Regions from separate parts of the Homo sapiens genome. Here region 2 is linked to region 1. The links are contacts of gene promoters, found by promoter capture Hi-C in human tissues and cell types (Jung and others, 2019). All regions are on one chromosome and are shown on one strand. The core of a region is centred on a gene start or on the middle of the fragment in contact, and the rest is flanking DNA. Distances in the headings are between cores, read along the strand shown. Region 1 holds the start of ENPP1 (ectonucleotide pyrophosphatase/phosphodiesterase 1). Region 2 overlaps ENPP3 (ectonucleotide pyrophosphatase/phosphodiesterase 3).

Region 1 (3,572 bases), core at 772-3,271:
TCAACTGTCCTTTCTACTAAGCTCTCATAATATTGAAGTAGCTTTGTTGTCTATGGTGACATCCGAGGTTCTTGGTCTCACGGCCACAAAGATCAAATATGTGGACACACACAAAGGGTGAGGTTTGGAGCAGAATTTTTAATAGGCAAAAGGAGGAGAATAGCTCTGCTACAGAGAGGGGTCCCAAAAAATGGGTTGCAATACGTGGTGAAATGCAGGGGTTTTTATAGATGAGCTAGTGGGGAGGCGGTGTCTGATCTACATAAGGAGGGAAAACCCGGTTTCGTGCATATGGCATGAAAACCCGGTTAGGACCAGGTGTGTCATCTGCATAGGGCTTAAGTGTCTGGCAGCCCCGGCCCCAATCTTCTACTATATAGGCAGGTAGCTACTCCGTGTTGCTTATTTCCTTCTTACTGTGCATGTGGTAAAAAAGAGGGGAGGTGGAACCCCCATGGTGGACATGCCTGGCCCCAGTAGCCCCTTCTGTCTGTGCCGCTGCCGGCATCTCCCGTGCAAGCTTCCAGTTTCCTTACCTATGTTTGCAGCCCAATCTTCCAGGTTGCTCTTTGTTAGAAAGGAAGTGATTTCTTGGGCTGCTTTTTGTTAGAAGGTAAGTTCTGCCGAGGGCTCTTTTGCTCATACTATCTGCCTAAATAATTTCTATCTCCTGTATCAATATCCTATGTGTGACTCTATTCTGCATATATGACTTAGGTTTTAATTATTTTGTTTACGAGTTGGTCCTACCCCCCCACCCCCGCTTCCACCACACTTAAGGAAAGATACATTTTAATTCATTTTTTATATGGTATGCATAGTTGGAGGCCAAAAGATTGAGTTGAAGGATTCATTACTTGATGAATAAATGGATGGGTGGATGGATGAGTCAGTATAAATGAAGAGCATCCCAAGTTGACTATTTTAAAGGGATAACATGCATTTTATATTTGTTAAACATTCATTCTCATTTGTAAACACTTGTATATATTCATGTATTCAAAATGTATTGAAAATTAATTGTTTTCCTTGGTACCTGAAGTCAGTCCTGGGTATTGCAAAGTAGTTCGAAGTCACTGGTTTCCCTCTGTCTCACTTCACTACACACTGGTGATTTTGCTAAGTGATGAGCCAGAAAATGTACAAGTTCCAGAATCAAAGGTAAAACAAAACCCACCAAGAATCAGCTCACTGTTAGCGTCCTAGTTGAAAAATAAGGCTTATCAAAGTATTTCAGATTGCATTAACACTTTTGATATAGCTAGGTATCAGTGTCAACCTCAGGAGAGGGCAACGCCAACTCCTGAAACCTTCAATACAGAAAGTCTAGAAAAATAAGCAAATATACATACAAACAATAGCGAGAAGACTCCAGAAACCACATAAAACCGTGGGAATCGAAATATCCCTTACGTGTGTTCAGTACATGTGAACCCACGTATTTTAAGTGGACGATTTCTCTCTCAGAGTACCGTAGGTAGTGGGGGACGGGGCGCAGAGGGGGAGAAACAGAAAGTCGCCTTCCTCCATGGTTCATTTGCATTTCCATCCAGAAACTCACAGGTCGACCCCAAGACTCCACTCTCTCCCGCCTTTGAGAAGCCGGACCGGCATCGGCGGCTGCATCCTTCTCCTCCTCCCCGCTCTATTTTGGGGCCCCATGATCTCATGCCCTCTGCAGACCACACGCTGCAATTCCAGCCCAGCCCGCGCCGCGAGGCCACGCAGGGCGATTCCTGCAAGTGTCGGGAGGGTGGCCGGGGCGCGGGGAGGGGACGGCTTGGGGGGAAGTTTAAGACACGCCCACGTAAGGGACCCAAAATAACCGACACACAGAGTGCCCGAAATCAGACAGGAAGCCAAATAATCCGGGGCGTTGAGTCGCTTTGCCCTGACTGCGAGAGCCGGGTGTAGGGCGGGGAGCCAAGGATCTGACCGCGAGGGGCGGGCGCGGCGGGGAGGGGCGGGGCGGGGCGGGCGGCGCGGGGCCTATTAAAGGCGCGGCCGGGCAGCGGGGCCGGAGCGGCCGGGGCCACGATGGAGCGCGACGGCTGCGCGGGGGGCGGGAGCCGCGGCGGCGAGGGCGGGCGCGCTCCCCGGGAGGGCCCGGCGGGGAACGGCCGCGATCGGGGCCGCAGCCACGCTGCCGAGGCGCCCGGGGACCCGCAGGCGGCCGCGTCCTTGCTGGCCCCTATGGACGTGGGGGAGGAGCCGCTGGAGAAGGCGGCGCGCGCCCGCACTGCCAAGGACCCCAACACCTATAAAGTACTCTCGCTGGTAGGTCCGCGGCCAGGCCCCGGCGCCCGGGAGGGCTGGGAGTACGGGGAGGGCGGCGCCGAGCTCCTGCGCTCTCAGCGCAGTCAGCACCGGGCACCGGAGAGAGGCATGGTCCGGGAGTGCTTCTTCGCCCGCGCGCTCTCCTCCGCAGCCTTTGCAAGTGCCCTACACAGCCGCCCCTGCCAGGTACCTTGCCAGGGCAGGATGGTTCACTCTCACTTGAATTATGGATGCCTGTGAAAGCAGGCTGTTCAAAACGGTCATCCTTAGAAATACTCGACCCCCTGCCCCAGGAGAGTACGGGTTTTTAGAGGAGAAAAATGTCAAACGCGAAAGTTGTTGGTCTTAAGAAGGTGCATCAATGTGTTGCTTCTTTTAGGGGGCTCTGGGCGCAGTATACATGACTTCACTTGGGTTAACTGATTGCAGTTGAAGAGTTAGCGGAGCTCTTTAAGTTTTATTAGGAACTCTACGGAACACTTTTTCCCTTTCGCTCCGTTTTGGAATTTCCTTGCAGGTGCTCAGAAATTCCATGGATGTTCACATTATGTGACTGAAGAAACCTTTATGATTCTTTGCCCACTCTTCTAACCAGAGGCTACACGGTTTGTGTTGCTAACAAAAGCTACCTATTACTCCTCTGCTATTTTGCTATGACATTTGCAGGACCCACAGTCAACTTCATGAAATGTGGGGGTTGGTTTTTATTCTGAATTCATGGTGGGAAGTGCTGATTGAGAGAAGGCCTGGATTCCTGGCTGTTATTATTTGCTGAGGCCTTGCGTAACTGTCCCTAAACCTCAATTTCTAATGTGTGAAAATGGGACAACATCAACTCCCTTGTGCATTGCATGGGATTATTGTGAAAATCAAGCTGAAGAATGTAGGTAGGGAAGTAAATTGAAAACAGCAAGGAAATAGAATCATTTTTATTGTATTATATGGAAATCACAGATTTCTATGTATAGTGTACCCTAAAATATATCCCCTTACATATGATTGAATAATGCTTTGTAGAAAAATTTCTAATTTTTCAAGTCTCCTTTCATTTTGTATGCATTTCCATTTTCACTATATTTGGGACATCATGGAGATGCTATAATACTTTGAGGAATCAATCTTCCTAGACTTAAGAGATGGTGCCGTATGCTTAGTACTTAAAAAGAAGCCTTAGTTTCACAGAATAAGTACCCCAAGCCACATGATGTTTGCATCTCAAGATAAAATTTTGCATCTTGTAACACTGTTTTGAGTCTATAATAACACAATATTGATGAGAACTTAGTCTCTTGAGT
Region 2 (3,786 bases), core at 1,244-3,743, 83 kb before region 1:
AACCTTACCTGGAAACGAGAAGTGAGAATGCATACATTGTAAGATTAAGTAGGGAAATATGCTTTATAAACTGGAAAGCACTGTTTGGTAATTGTTAATGTCATTATAAACTAACTGTCCTTCACCATTCAATACAGTAATCTTCGAGCTCTCTCCAACTTTCCTTATAAACCATTCTTCCTGCGGTTTATGAATCAGATGTTCATGCCTGGTTATTTAGAGCAGAAAGAACTAGGAGGGTGTAGGGATTGCAGCCTGCTGTTTGACATACCCACTAGGGTAGGTGCTGCGGGGTGTTCCTTTGGGTAGCAGGGAAGAATCTGGCTGACAGTTGACACTGGGAAGGTCTTTTTAGTAGATTAGGCCCTTGGATGAGTTCAAGAGCAGGACTTCAGATCCCAGGAGACTTTCAATAAGGTGAGGTTTTAGTGCTAGGAGAGGCCCCAAGGGCAAGGAGTCATAACAGCAGCTCAAAATATAAGGACCAAGCCTACTTGTGAGAATCAGAGCGCCTGGATGGGGTTGGGATTTCAGAGTGAAATTGGAGCCCCGTTATCAGGAGTCCTTAAAGCTAAAATTAATGTCAAGGGTCATTTGATGCCAAGTTCCAAATGTGTTTGTAGAACTAAATAAAAACACCTGCTGCCTCAGGTAAGAATTTTTCCTTATAGTCAGAAGTAGGTGAAGACATCACAATCTCTATTCTTCAAAATAGCATTATACCACAGAAATAAATAACCAACCAAAGGGGCTTTACAGGACAAAAGCTTAGCAAACTTCTCAATGAAGATCAAATCCACAGCAAAGATCAGAGTAAGGGTGTGGGTTTCCTACCGACTGCTCCTGATAACCTCAATCAAACTGCCATTAAAAAATAATAATAACATTACTTACTAGGTATATTATTTCTCATTTTAGAGATAAAACATGCTCAGAGAAGTTAGATAAATTGTTCGAGGCCAGAGAAGCTTGTTCTATCTGGCTGCAAACCCCAAGTTCTATGTAAAGAATGCCTCTTGCTATTCAGAGTGTGGTCTCAGGACCACCATCTGCATCACTTGCAAATTGGTTAGAGATGCAGAATCTCAAGCCCTACCCTAGGTTTACTGAACCAGAATCCGTATTTTAACAAAACCCTCAAGTGATTGTATGCATATTAAAGCTTAAGGAGCACTGGGATGTTGTCACCCAACTTAGTCATTGATTCCAGCAGTAATCAGAATGCTTTGCCCCATTATCAATTATCTTTTTGCAAATTCTCTCTCTCTCTCTCTCTCTCTCTCACACACACACACACACACACACACACAATAGGGAGCAGTAGTGTCTCTATATTTCTGAATAGTGGCAGAATCAGAATCTTAAGTTAGGCTAGCTTCTTTGGCAGTATAACATTTAATCGATTACTACAGAAACAATCTTGATTACCCCTTAAAACACATATTGTTGCTTTGACTTATTTCCTCCCCTTTCCCATCCCTCATTATCTTGCAGAGTACTCAGCTGGAACAAGTGAATCAGATGCTAAATCTCACCCAAGAAGAAAGTAAGTCAATAGAAAACATGTTAAGTCTTTGATATTTAGACCTAACAAAACACAATGTGGCCCTTTTAGGACTCTCCAAAATAAGCTGACAGAGGTTCCTGAACATAAAGATTTTATTGCCAATATACAAAAGGTAAAAAAAAAAAAACTCACAACAGATATAATGACAACAGTACAAGCATGGGGTAGTTCCAGTGGTTCCAGGAACAAAACGAATTCCTTGAAGAGGTTGTGACTCATCTGCAGTCCTCTGTTTCCTTTCCTTAGATGTAAGCAGACTGAGCTGCCTGGGTTTGAGTCCTACCTCTGGTGCTTCCTGGCTGTGTGAGCTGGGGCAAATCACTTAGCCTCCCTGTGCCTCAGTCTTCTCATCTGTAATAACCGTACTCACCTCATGTAGTTGTAAAAATTTAAAAAGTTAATACATGGAAAGAATTTACAATTGTGCCTGGCCTGTAGCAATATTATTATTACCTGTTATCTTTTAAGTATTCTTGTATTAAACTCACTCTGTTTCAGTTTCATCGCTTATAAGGGGATACCTACTTTATACAGTTGCTGTGAAGATTACATGAGTTAATATATGTGCCTGGTTTACAGTTAAGAGCTTAGTAAATGTACTAGTTGTTTTGATAATCTTATAATCTGCCAAGTGTTATTCCATGGCATGAATAGCCTGCAGGTTTTTTATCCATCACTAATTGATGGATTTTTAAGAAGCATGCAAGTAAAAGTAAATAAATACATTAGAATGTTGTTTTAGTCCATTCCAATTGCTATTAGGTTGGTGCAAAATTAATTGTGTTTTTTTCTATTAAAAGTAATGGCAAAAAACAGCAGGGCATGGTGGCTCACACCTGTAATCCCAGCACTTTGGGAGGCTGAGGCAGACAGATCACTTGAGGTGAGGAGTTCAAGACCAGCCTGGCCAACATGGTGAAACCCCGTCTCTACTAAAAATACAAAAAAAAAAAAAAAAAAATTAGTTGGGCATGATGGTGCACCCTTGTAATCCCAGTTACTCAGGAGGAGGCTGAGGTAGGAGAATCACTTGAACCCAGGAGATGGAGGTTGCAGTGAGCTGAGATCATGCCACTCCACTCCAGCTTGGGTGACACAGCAAGACTTGGTCTCAAAAGTAATGGCAAAAACCACAATTACTTTTGCTCCAACCTAATATAACAAGATGCCATAGACTGGGTAGCTTATAAACAACAGAAATTTACTTCTCATAGTTCTGGAGGCTGGGAAACCCAAGATCAAGTTGCCAGCAGATTTGGTTTCTGATGATGGCCTGATTCCTCATAAAGGGCCTTCTTCTCACTCTGAGCTCGTATAGTGGAAGGAGTGAAGGTGTCCCTAGGGTGTCTTTGATGAAAGCCCTAATCCTGCTCATGGGGGTCTTATATCATGCCTTAATCACCTCCTAAAGGTCCCACCTCCTAATACCATCACCTTTGGGATTAGGATTTCAATGTATACGTTTTAGAGACACATAAACATTCTGATTATAAGACATAAGTTTATAAAATTCCAACATCTTCCCTATGACAATTACTAGACTAGGTCATCTTTGTTACAAAGTATGTACTTTTGACTTTGAAGGTTTTACCTCTTCATGTATATCCTCTGAGCTGTAAAATGTAAGGAATCACAGAGGGCAGGCTTCAGATCCTTGCTTAGGCTCTTGCTTGGCCAACTTACTTATGTAAACCTTAGTTTTATAATCTGTAAAATGGAGTAATAACACCAATATTATTATTATTATTTTTAATAATTATACATTGGATTGTTGTAAGAATTGAAAGAGGTTAAATATGTAAAATATTTGTTAGAGTACTTGTCATATAATAAGCCATAAGAGAGTGGTAGTTATTATATGGGTAGTTATTACATGCAAAGAAGCATTTGCTAATTTCATGAACCTTTTTATTTTATGTTATTTTAATTTTAGTAACAGCAACAGTGAAAGTAAATTTGCCATTTGGGAGGCCTAGGGTACTGCAGAAGAACGTGGACCACTGTCTCCTTTACCACAGGGAATATGTCAGTGGATTTGGAAAAGCTATGAGGATGCCCATGTGGAGTTCATACACAGTCCCCCAGTTGGTAAGTTCCTGAGTCCATTGATCCATGCAGGCAAGAAATATTTATAATCCTTTCATATTCTAAGAGTTGAATTTTGTTTTGCAGCAGAGATTCAAAGGGAGGGAACTCACTGGCCTGTAGCTTGCAAGACA

What was found. The method cuts DNA at HindIII sites, captures the fragments that hold promoters and counts their contacts. A contact is called where the count stands out against the background at its distance.
Region 2: a fragment that was not itself captured here is called in contact with the fragment with the promoter of ENPP1 in region 1 in 2 of the 25 tissues and cell types used here (H1 embryonic stem cells and IMR-90 fibroblasts).

Annotation. Positions count from the first base shown.
Region 1 is chr6:131,805,999-131,809,570 of GRCh38, forward strand. It overlaps ENPP1 (ectonucleotide pyrophosphatase/phosphodiesterase 1), which reads left to right and starts at 2,022. Exons shown (of 25, transcript NM_006208.3): 1 at 2,022-2,277. The coding sequence starts at 2,038. The HindIII fragment of the contact is 10,154 bases long and covers 1-3,572 here.
Region 2 is chr6:131,722,546-131,726,331 of GRCh38, forward strand. It overlaps ENPP3 (ectonucleotide pyrophosphatase/phosphodiesterase 3), which reads left to right. Exons shown (of 25, transcript NM_005021.5): 19 at 1,495-1,546; 20 at 3,501-3,655. Among named protein-coding and RNA genes, the nearest start is that of CTAGE9, 13 kb to the left of the region's middle. The HindIII fragment of the contact is 4,940 bases long and covers 24-3,786 here.